Linked DNA regions of Homo sapiens: region 1 is linked to region 2. The links are contacts of gene promoters, found by promoter capture Hi-C in human tissues and cell types (Jung and others, 2019). All regions are on one chromosome and are shown on one strand. Each heading gives the region's core, a stretch centred on a gene start or on the middle of the fragment in contact. The rest is flanking DNA. Distances are from core to core; before and after follow the strand shown.

Region 1 (6,706 bases), core at 3,112-5,611, 570 kb before region 2:
TCAGGCCTCCATCCTTCAGTAATTCAAAGCAGAGGTATGGTGCTCCTAGTGGAGAGGTAGCGAACACTCCCTGGCTCTAAAACTGCCACACGTGCAAGGCACAGTTTGGCTACTATAGTAGGGAGGAACAGGAACAACTTGAAAGCCCTCCATTCCCCCTCTCAGGTAGGGCCTCAAGAAGGATGTGTCTACCACTGAAGATGGGCCAGGAGCACTGAACCTACCTCCTCACCTCCCGCTATGAACCTGGCTGGCACTGAGTGACAAGAAGTCAACTGTTGTGTTGGGGAATGAGACAAAGCATGGGGAAAAAAATCCCTCTGAGGTGCAGGCTTGCAAAGAGTGCTGAAAGTTGAGGATGGAGCAGGAATACTGAGAGGAAGACTTTTGACATTCAGGGTTCAGCACTTAGCACAAGATAAAAACAGATCTCCACTAGAATTTGAAGTGTGTGTGTGTGTGTGTGTGTGTGTGTGTGTGTGTCTTGATTATATTACCTAAGCACACATTTTGTAGAGTATATACCCAGGATTGTAATGAGTGTCTCATAAATCTGTGCATTTTCTAGGTTAAATATTAACAATGGGTCTTCTAAAGTGGTTGTACCAATTTATACTTCAAGCAGTATATGAGCGTTTTTCTTCTTTCATATCTTTATCAACACCTAGTATTGTTAGTTTTTTGTTACCCATTCTGGTGCATATGTTATGGCATCTCATTGTAGTTTTAATTTGTATTTACCTAATGACGAATGAAAATAAGCTTTTTTCATATGTTTATTGGTCATTTGAATATTCTCATTTATAAAACTTTAATTCAAGTCAATTGTCCAGTTTTTCATCAAGAAGTCCCTGTCACAACCAATCCCCATGACATGTGATTTCCTATGTAAAAAACCTTCACATGTACTCTCAAACCTAAAATAAAAGTTAAAATAATAATAAATAAAAATAAGAAAAAGTCAAGAAATGGCAACATAGGCTTGTTATTTCAATTTACCAAGGTAACTGTCAAACTATTGAAAATAGTTAAATCTTGGGAAAACAAATTGAAGTTTGGCAAATATAGTGACCCTTATTTAGAACAATTATAAGCTTATTGCACTTATTTTACCTTTGGAAGAAACACAGATGTTCATTTAAAAGTGTGTTTTGTGGACTGGTGCCTGTTCAGATCCCTGTATTACTATTTTTGAACATATAAGTACAGAAATTAAGAATAAGCTTTTAGAAATTTTTATAGCAGTATGGCAGGGTAATTTTATTTTTATAGAATTAATACTAAAAATGAACATATTTTATATGTCTGTTTTTTCTTTCACTTTTCTAACAATTCATTTTTGTTATATTTCATAGAATTATTAATCCATGATAGGTTGGAAATTTAGAATAAAACTAGTTATTTACCCTGTGTAGTTTGAGAAATGTTCTATTACCTTATAACAAATGAAAACTTAACTTAAAAAATGAAATAAAATAAACAACTTTGCACTATGTCCAGAAGATGTGTAAGGTGATATTTTTGACTTGGTAACTTAAAAATTTAATATAATAAATATTTAGCATAGTGTTTTTGTTTGGCCAACATCATTTAGTAGAATGCTCAACAACTCAACCTAAACTTAGCCCTTTCTTTTATGTTTGAGAATTCAGTGCTCTCTGAGTGTCAAGAGGGTTATTTATCAAGCAAGCATAAACTAATTTGGCTTTTTGTTATGTGCCAGAACTTTAATTTTTTTTCATGATTATGGGTATTCTTCATTGGTAGAGCACTCTACTTTTCCACCTCTGCAAACACATTATCAGATAGCTCATTGCAGTGAAAGGAAATCTTAGCCAAATTCCTCAGAAAAATGGACATGTATTAGTTATAATGAGGCAGAAGCAGCAAATAAATCAGTTTGCAGGTTGGAATTCCTTCTCTCTGCTCTCTGGTATCCTGGCCAACACTTTTATGTATGTCTCATTTCTAAGCAGATGTGATGATAGTCTTACACTATAAGTGGCAAACCTTGTAATCAGATCTTGAACCAAGACTTTTTTATTTCTCTCTGTCTCTCTTTTTTTTTTTTTTTTTTTGAAGTTGAGAGAAATTAAATCAATACTTTTGGCTTTCTACTGCCATGAATCCTGTTATACCATTCCCAACTATTTCCTTAACTTAAACAGCAGTAACACTGGCAATCAAAAACTTGTTTCATAAAACGTATGTTATTTACTACAACTTAAAATGTCTATACAGATACAGGTTCTTCTTTTGAAAATTATTTTTATTGAGATAAAATTTATGCACAGTAAAATTCACACATTTTAAGTGTACAGTTCTATGCATAATCCCTCATGGGTATAAGTGAAAGTGTTGCAGATAATTTTTCTTTAAATCCTAACTAGCCAGATACAAAAGTTGAATCAAATTAATTAATGTGTTAAATGGCTGATCAAAATATTTTTATTCAACTTACCTATTCATAAACCTCTTATTTCTCAATGTAACATAAAATATAACAGCTTTACTGAAAAATTACATGCTTTCATTAATGAAAAATAAGTAATTATCACAAATGCATTTGGGTCAAATGCTTACGCACTTTGTAATCACCTTATGTTCAATGCCACCGACCTAGGCAAAAGGCTGTAAATATAAGAATTTCTGTGGAAGGCTATTCATTTTTTAACTTGATTATTCATAACACCACTATTAATTATCTTTCACTATATAATTAATAATATATAATTAATTATATTAATATATTTCAAATAATATATTTTAATACGCAATAAATAATATTCTTTACGAACATTACTACCTCAAACAGTAGAAATCAACTGTGTATTACATTCAAGCAGAAATGTTAAAAGCCACTAAACAATTAACTCCTGCACTTTTTCCTCTGCCATAAGAATGTCAGGTACTAAATAGGGACTGTATCTTTAGCCTTTGTTCTGAGATGGAAATTCACAGAGTCATAGCAGTCAACCCACAGGTGCCTAAAATGCTATCAATGAGAAATATATGTTTGATGTTGTTGCTACTGTAATGCCACTTAATATAGTGCATTTATTACGTTGCTAACATTATTTGCCACGTAGACACTTGATTGCAAGTAACATACTCGGTGCTTAACACAGTATCAAACATTCAGTAGTCCTTAATAACTACTGAATTATTCATTACTCATTGATGACACTTGAATAAATAAAAGAACTGAAAGCTATCCTAGGATATAATGTCACCTAAGTTTGGGAAGAAGAAAAGTAGTTAAAATCATTGAGGGCTACTTGAGGAGATGGGAATAGATTGGGTCTTAGGAAACTAGGAACATCGTGAAGCCATTAGCACAACTCTGTGCATTGTCGTTTGCCTAAGAATCTGTAATTAATTTAGTCTAGAAAACAGTTTGGTGGAGCTTGAGTAATGAGTCTTTTGTTTGGCATGCTCCTAGTAAATATTTAATAAAAATCTGTTGATCATAATGCCATTTAAAATAACATTTCATAAAAAATATATCCTGACTTATTAAAATAAAGAAATAAATCAGAACCTAGGGATACTTCATCAAAGATTATAACATTTCTTTGATTAGCAAGTGAGTAATGTAAAAATTCCATGTTATTAAATCAAAGTCACAGCAACACAAATTTACTTGGTTCATTTATTTAAAGAATACATTTTAGCTTTATTTATCATGGTTCTAAGTATGCTTACAAATGTATTGCCTTATTTGGAAAATTTAATTAAATCTCTGCTTTGGGATATCAGTATTATTAATGTGTAAGGATAAATCTGAAACAGACTCGTGAAAATGACAGCATTAATAGCATAGGTATTAATACCTGTTTTTCTCTTTTAGCAACTTCAATTCACCATGTATTTGAATTAATACAGAAGTTTATATCCAGAAGAGTTAAAGTTGTTATAAAATCAGTCTCCTTGGAACTGCTACCATTTATCTTTTTCAATATTGCAGGCAGGTACTATTTCAATTATTTGACACATGGAATTTTGGAAGAATAGTAAACTGTAGCACATCTTTTATTTGTGTCTTAGAAAATTTTTCTGGATTCTACAATTGTTCCAAGGTCTAAGAACTTGTCAGTCCAAACTGTACCAATTACTATTAATGTAAGAAGACTCTGTGACTACATTTTGGTCCTTTATATGATCTCCTGAATTTTATATTGACCTGCTGGTGAAGAATATTCTGATACATTGCAATATTGACTTACTAATAAATTACTACAAATATAAAAGAGAGACCAAACTTTGTTCACTTTATTGCTATAGGAAGTCAATTTATAGCATTTCATTAAAGAAAAAAACTCCATGTGAATCTTTGTTATTGACACATAGTCATTCAATAAAATAGGTGATTCATATATTAACTATAGAAGATTTAAACATTTAAAATTTAAAAATTTGTCTGACAAATTTCTGAGAAAGTTGATATACCTGAAAAAATACTCATAAACCAGATGCTTTATCCCTAGTATTAGAGAAAGCTTCACAAAGATGCTCAGGTTGAAAATTTAAAATAATATAATTTAGTTAGATGTCAGAAAAAAGGAGATGTGGGTAGGATGAGGGAGCATTCCATTTAGAGATATCAGCACAAGAAAAAGTAAAGAGGTATGAAAATGTGAAAGATTTGAAGAAGTGCATTGAAATTTATTTTCAGAAGAAAATTTAAAAATAGAGAAATAGACAATTTTAAAATCATAGTTTATTTAAATCCCCATAGCAGTCAGTCATCTGTTCTAAATATATCACTTTGTTCAAGGACATCAATATTACTGCAGGTTCCAAGATGAGTGAAAAACATACTAACTCTTTAAGAGTCACTGTTTTTCAAGAATATTTATCTATTGCATATTTTATGGTCCACAGTCATGCCCGTTAATCCCCTCTTTCAAAGTAATTCACATTTAGCTAGGTAGCCAAAATGAATGTGGTTAGGTGAAATATTTTTATACGATCTTTTACAAGTACTTGTAGCCTGAATTAGAAAAACTGAATCTTTCCAAAGATGAGGACTGAGACTACTTCTAAATCCACACTTTATTCTGGTTTTGAAAATAAAACTGTGCTAATGGAAAGCATTGTTTTCCAGCATGAATTTAATTATTGTGGTCTATATTTCCTGATGAAGAGAGTAGGTTCCTGGCAAAATTATGTTATATTTGCATTTTGATAGCATACAGTTTTAGGCTGTTCCCTTCAAATTCAGAGAAATACAAATACATTATATTAGAGTATTCTCAAGAGAAATATAAGTATTCCATTATATTTTACCAGGCACATTCATGGGACTTCCAATACAATCTATAATTTTTGTAAATCAAACAGCCAAGTAATGAAATATGTTATTTTCCAGAAAGTAGGATACATACATCTCTTTCATCACTGATAAGCTTATTTCATTTCTCTAGCATGTAAATCATTAATCTCTTAGAGTTGTGTTTATTACAAGAGGATTTTTTAATACCAACATGTGAAGCTTATATAAGATGAAGATAAAATATTTAGATTTTTATCAATATAGTCTCAAGAGTAAAAGCTTTAATAAACAAACATGGATTTACAAAGCAAACAGCATGGGGATAATTTTTCAAATTACATAATGTTTTCATTGTTTGAAAACAAAACAAGAACTACAACACCAAAAAGAGTAAGGGCTCCTTTCCACAGCAAATGCCCTAGTTTAATAAAAGAAAGATTTGATTGTTAAAATTAGAATTTGTATATAAATTTGCAGAAACATATTTATTCTCTACAGTGAAGTTAGTAGATATGTAAAGACATTAATTAGTACCAATAACAACATGTATATTGTACCTTTGATGTTGTCTTAGTTTCCATAAAATCTGTTATTTTGACAGTGTTCATTTAGCATGAATAATAAATCAAAATATTTTAACCTAATAATTGATGGTCATTATTCATAGAACAACAATAATTAAAATTTGATTTGTTTATTTATGATAAACATGGTAGAATAATTAGCTATGTGAAAAGCATTTATTTTAAATAGGTTCATGTGTCTTTTGATAAACAAAAGATCTACACATTTTATCTCTGTCCCTAGTACATTTATTCCATCACAGAACTTCTTAGTTTGAAAACATAATTTATATACACAGTTTGCCTTTTAAACTGGAATTTCAATCTTTCAACAAGTGTTTATTAAGCACTAAGCACTAGGGAAAAAAGCAGTTAATACAATAGGAATAACTCCTTTTCTCATGGACAACCATCTACTACAGTGTTTCCTAAGCAGCAGTATTTTTAGATGTTGTCTAAAGGTACATAATTCTCTATAAAAATTTTAAAACACAACTTTCCACGATAATTAAAATGTATTTTATGCTGTCTAATATGATCATCACAGCCACATGCAACTAGGGTAGTTGAACAGAGACTTTAATTAACTAATTAATTAATTAATTTTTTTGAGACAGAGTCTCTCTCTGTTGCCCAGGCTGGAGTGCAATGGCTCCATCTCGGCTCACTGCAACTTCTGCCTTCTGGGTTCAAGCAATTCTTTTTCTCTGCTTCTCGAGTAGCTGGGTCTACAGGCCTGTGCCACCATGCCTGGCTAATTTTTGTATTTTTAGTAGAGAGGGGTTTCACCATATTGGCCAGGCTGGTAATTTAATTAAATATTAACTTAAATATTAATTTTTTATATTAACTTCTCTTTAATGATTAG
Region 2 (5,951 bases), core at 2,746-5,245:
GGATATTTGGGGTGTTCCAATTAAAAGTACAACTCAGTTCTGAATTGCCCTTCAGTGATGCTCATTGTTTCTGTGTCTTACCGATGCACTTGGTCCTGCAAATCCATATTACAGTGTTTTTAAATGGAGATCCAGGGATCAGCAGACACCTGAGAAAAAAATCCTCCAACATAAAGAACAGAACAACAACAACAAAAAAAGAGTTATTCAGAGAAAAAGATGACAAGACTAAAACGAGGGTGAAAGCGTGTTAAATATACATAATTAATATGGTCAGACAAATAAGAAAAGATTTTCATTCATGAAATAAGAAAAAAGAATCACTAAGCCAAAAAGTATACAGATCTTAGAACTATAAAAGATGAAATCATAGTAGTTTAATAGAAAGCTCAGAGAACAAGGTCAAAGGAAATCTCCCCAAAATTAAAGCACAAGGAGTAAGGTGACAAAATTGGAAAATAGAAGAGAAGTGAAAATTGGCGATTCAGTCCTAGCAGTCAAAAATCCAACAAAAAAGTAGTTCTAGTAAGGGACTGCACAGAAAAAAAATGGAAGTTAGAACATTACTGAAGGAATAAATCAATAGAATTCTTGGAATTGAAGAACTCAACATTGAGTCTCAGATTGAAATGCTCACTGGGTATCCATCAGGAAAAATGAACAAATTGAACATAATGGAAAAAGAGAAGACACCAAATCTTCCAGAGTGATGAATTGGGTTGTATTAAAAGGATCTGGAGGGTCGGGGACAGTGGCTCATGCCTGTAATCCTAGCACTTTGGGAGGCCGAGGTGGCCTGATCACCTGAGGTCAGGAGTTTAGGACCAGCCTGGCCAACATGGTGAAACCCCACCTCTACTGAAAATACAAAAAAATTAGACGGGCATGGTGGCGGGCGCCTGTAATCCCAACTACTCTGGAGGCTGAGGCAGAAGAATGGCTTGAACCGGGGAAGCAGAGGTTGCAGTGAGCCGAGATCGCACCATTGTACTCCAGCCTAGGCAACAAGAGCGAAACTCCGTCTCAAAAAAAAAAAAAAAAAAAAAAAAAGAAAAGAAAAGAAAAGAAAAGAAAAGGATCTGGAGTCAGAACTGGACTTCTCATTTCTTCTGTGCAAGCCAGAAGTTTGGTCATCATGATCACCAGTTGGCAGTGAGTGGCAATTCCATTTTCTGAATTGAGGAATACGGGACCAGCCCCAAGTGTATACAGAAAGTTACAACTGGTCTGTTATGAATCTGAGCTGCCAATAGAATACAGAAAAGGAAAGTAGTAACACTTGAAGTAAGTTCAAATTTAATAATTTTCTGTGATCTTCATTCAGCTGCTCTGAGATTTCTTCATTTACCTACTCTCTTAGTTCCTGTTTTGGAGGTCAAATAATATTTAAAATTATAGTGTTAGAGTGATTCCCAAGTTCCCCTTACCGTAGAGAGATCTCTGCCTAACAAGCTAACTCTCCCTCCCCCACGATATGAACGAGAAAGGGCAAGAAGGAATTGAAAGAGGATTGAGCAAGTAGGGAAATCAGAGTTTTGAATGTTTAAAATTGTCACTTAACAGGTATGCTTAGTTCACACGGGTTTTTCCTGGGCTCCTTATTTCCAAACCAATCCCTCCTCTACATAACGTAGAGGTCATCCAGAAGGAAGCTGTGACAGAGATCATTACAGCTAGTATTTTTTTGACTAACAATGGCTACTATAGTACTCAGCACAGCCAACAATGCTCAGTAAATATCAGTCTAACCTGCACTCCTCTCCTTTTACTATTTCACCAATTCCTTCAGAGTGTGAGTGGGGAAGTAAATGCAAATCTGTATTGCTTGATTTACTTTTTAGGTTCTTGGTAGCTGAAATAGTTGGAAAAAAAATTTAAAGACTGAAAATTGAAATTCTTGTCATCTTATCCTTCAGCATTGAAAAAGATGACCTTCAATGCAGTTTTTACTTTGCCCAAAATTCTTACCTGAGCTTTTAGTTAGTGACAAACAAAACTGTTTTGATTCACCTGCTAATGAGCTGCGAGATGGTCCAAAGAACAAAGAAAAAAATCAAAACCTGTGATATTCATTTTAGATGAAAGAAAATTTTTTTCAGAGAAATGAATTCAGAAAAACGAATATCCAAGTGAAATTAACTCTGCTTGTTGTGAAAACACAGCAGTAAGAGTAGCAACAGGCCAGGAACAGCATAAACAAATACCAGGAAAGTTATTTTCAGAATTTGTTTACCTAATGTTTAACACTGAAATCAAACACAAGAGGGTCATTAGGGAGACCTTCTGCATTACTCCACTTAAGCAATTAGAATCTGTAAGTAGTATAAAGATAATTACTCATTTGGTCCTCCTACACAGCAATTAGTTCATATGGTAAATATGAAAGTACAGCATTGCATTGCAGGCTGTTTTCTACCGGTCTGTCTGTGTAGACTGTAGCAGAATGGGGGGCAAAAGGCAATTGGAAAGGGCCTTATTAAAGTGTGTTATTTAGTTTTGTGCATACAGTAGATGTTTAATATTTTTTGATTGACAGTGAAATTATTTCTTTAGACAATTTGACTTAAAAACCACCCAAGTCAGTGTGCATAAAGACAAAAACCAAATGAAGCCTGCAGATTTTAGTTTGTCTTAATTCGTGGTAAAAATAGTCCTAGTTAAACCAATCGTCCTATGGATCAGGTCAAAATGATTCAACTAATGAATGCTTCCCTACTGGAGTGCTATGCCTAATATTTATACTAGGTTTACCATAGTCCTGTGCAAAGCAAATAATTTACCATGAACTGATTAGCTGTTTTTAAAAAAGACTACTTATTCTACTAGCATAGACACGCTAACAAGTTCAATGTATCCCACTTCAAAAATAAAGAATCCCTCATCACAAGAGGGTTAAATCAATCCTCAGGTTATGATATGGGATCAAACTCTGCCCGAAAACAGTTTAAAAACCATATAAACATATTATATCCTGAAGCCCATGTTTATTATTTTGTCGCTTTAGTTCTACTGATTTGCACCCATTTGCATTAAAGAATTATAAAAACAGGTGAGCTTAAGACATCCGAGTCCAAATCTCCCATTTTACAGACTCAGGCAAAGACCCGAAAGCAGGCCGGCCGTGGTGGCTAGTGCCAGCATTTTGGGAAGCTAAGGCGGTAGGATTGATTGAGCCCAGGAGTTCGAGACCAGCCAGGGCACCATAGTGAGATCCTTGTCTTTACAATAAGTTTAAAAAAAAAAAATAGCGCCTGGAGTCCCTGGAGTCCTAGCTACTAGGGAGGCTGAAGTAGGAGGATCGCCAAGACCTGAAAACAACTTCAAGGTTAGGCTGAGATGTGTGACAGATTTGAACTTAATCCTGTTCCCTTTAACACCCATGTCTTGTTTTAAGTCGCTAAGAAAGGAGATGGAGGGAGTCAAGTTGTGCATTCTCAATCGCCAATTACGGATTAATCGACAGAATCTTATCTGATTATTAGTACAAATAACATTTTATTTTGTGATCTACCTAAGAGGGTTTGCTTATTCACGCATTCTTTTTTCTAATTAACTTTTTCAGTTTTTCTTCGATTGGGATGACTTTTCCAGAAGGGCAGAAGCAGATAGCACAGAAAGTAGAATACATCCGTGGAAAAGTTGGAGAGACAAAGGCGGCGGGGATGGCTGCACTGATGCAGGGAAAAGTATTGGGAAAACGGAGAGGGCTCCTCGGGCCAACTCTGGGCAACGATGAGCATCCCCGGCCTCGGCAGGGGCGCCGGGCCGCCCGCCCTCCCTCCCTCCCTCCCTCGCGAGTCCCTTCTTCAGAGGACGCGGGGAGCCGGGTCTGCGCGCTCCGCCGCCTGTCACCTAGCGCCCGCGCCGGGCTGCGATTGGACGCGTCGCCGCCAGGCACCCGCCAGAAACACCAGTGCGCTGGGGAGAGGAGGGGGGCGTGCTTGCGAGTCGAGGGCTTGCTTTGGCTTTTTTACGGCTCCCCCCTCCCCTCAGCACTCCATGCCGGGTCTCTAGTTCCAGCGCGCCTCGGCTCGCTCGCGCGGCGGGAGAGTTGGCGCAAACCTCGCGGCAGCCGCAGCCTCCTCGCGCGCCTCTCCTTCCCCTACGCCCTCCGCTCCCGCCATGGGGCCAACGTGGGGCTCCTAAGAGTTGCCGGCTCTCAGCGGCGCAATCTCCAGCCAAAGTCACCGCGGGCGGACTATGGCTTAGGGCGCCAGAGGGGTTAGAGGTACGGGAAGAGGAAAAGACGGCTAACTGGGAAAAAAAGAGAAAACGAAAGAAAAGCCAAACGATGAGTTTCCACAAGGAGGACGGAGTGAACAGTCTGTGCCAGAAGGCTCTGCACATCGTCACCGAGCTGTGCTTCGCCGGCCAGGTGGAGTGGGAGAAGTGCTCGGGCATCTTCCCTCGGGACAGGGGCAGCCAGGGCGGAAGCAGCACAGGTAACCGGGAGGGCTCCGCTCGCGTCCTCGCGCTCCGCTGGGACCCCGCGCGCTAGGCTGCAAGCTCCGGGGTTCTGCGCCTCCCGCGCCGCTCCCGCGGCATATTTGGGGCGCCACGCTTTCCTACCTCGCTCCTTCCTTCGCTCAGCTCCTGACGACTTCGAGGGTGGGGCGTTTGGGTTTTGTTTCCTCCTGTCCACCTGCCGGGCTTCTCCCATTCTCTGGTCCGCTTCCCGCCTCCCGGCGCCGTCTCCCGCTCCCAGCCTCGCCGCGCCTCTCCGCGTTCTCCCACGCCTCCCATCTCCCTCCCGGAGTGGAGAAGTGAGTGCGGGCGGTGACGGCGCCGGGACGGCTCGCGGCTTGGCTGCTTGTGGGGGCGGCTCACCTGTGGGACTAGGGCTGCTCTCGCTCGTTCCACCGGCCGCTGGTCCCGGCCTTGTTGATGGGGGCCAGGCGGGACGGACAAGCCATGCTTGGACGCAGAACTCCCTTGCAGAGGTGGCTGCCTTGGCCTCCGAGGTAACCCGCGGCTGCAACCTGTCGGGCACCTGACAATTTCTAAAGCCCTTTTAATATATATGATTTTCTAGGGTTTCATGACAAAGTTGGTAAAACAAGGATTATTGATCCCATTTGTGAGGCGACACCTAAAGCTCAGAGCACATATCGAAGAAGTGGAAGAGAGGGGAGACGTTTAAAATCCCTAGCACACGCACGCTCTCAGACATCCAACTCACAGACGTCCTCCCTACCCTTCAGGAAACTAGGAAATGGGCTGGATGCAGGAGGATATCGACCGTCGGAAATCTGGAGATGGAAAAAAGTCTCAAGTGGATTTTCCTCAAGGCTTGGGGGTGGAAAGGATCGAATCCAAGCCACTGTTTGGGTCACGGTTGGGGAAAAGGTTGGTGTGTCCAGCCTGCTGTGCTCCTCGGGCGCACGCGAGGTGGATCCCCGAGTTGCGGGCTGCGTGGTTTCAAGAGCCGCTTGAGAGGGTCACTTGTTGCACTAGGAGTCAAAAAACACTGCTTTGGGGATTTTCGACTGGAAGGTTGCCATTCCTTCTCTAGGTTCTTTCCCTTTGCTTTTCCTGTCATTTTGATCTCCTGGCGGGATTTTAAGAGTTGAAGGTAGTCAGGGCAACAAGAGCTGGACAGCCAAGCTCAGGACAACATGGAGCCCTGCGTGCTGGGAGGGAGCAAAGCGGGGCACACTTAGTGAATCCTCTCCACCACCACCCCTGCGTCAAAGCCAAGCGGGGAGTGGGAATGGGTTTAGTTTAGCTTTTACATTCCATCGTTCACATGGGTAGCTGCAGGGTTTGGTATTCTCTGATCCACGGCAACGTGAGCCAAGGGGGCTCTGTCTGCACTTGGCAGAGCTTGAAGATATGCCGCTGCTTGGACCCTGGATAGGGAAACTTTAAAATTTTCTCAGTGTATAAACACAACTGAGAATCATTTCCATTCGTTCAGTAGGTGTTAAATTCCTAGGAGTGTATGAAACTCA

The links. The method cuts DNA at HindIII sites, captures the fragments that hold promoters and counts their contacts. A contact is called where the count stands out against the background at its distance.
Region 1: a fragment that was not itself captured here is called in contact with the fragment with the promoter of SYT10 in region 2 in 1 of the 25 tissues and cell types used here (dorsolateral prefrontal cortex).

What each region holds. Positions count from the first base shown.
Region 1 is chr12:34,009,918-34,016,623 of GRCh38, reverse strand. No RefSeq gene overlaps it. Among named protein-coding and RNA genes, the nearest start is that of ALG10, 9.2 kb to the left of the region's middle. The HindIII fragment of the contact is 6,865 bases long and covers 929-6,706 here.
Region 2 is chr12:33,437,863-33,443,813 of GRCh38, reverse strand. It overlaps SYT10 (synaptotagmin 10), which reads left to right and starts at 3,995. Exons shown (of 7, transcript NM_198992.4): 1 at 3,995-4,442. The coding sequence starts at 4,292. RefSeq lists an enhancer at 4,268-5,084. The HindIII fragment of the contact is 9,708 bases long and covers 1-5,951 here.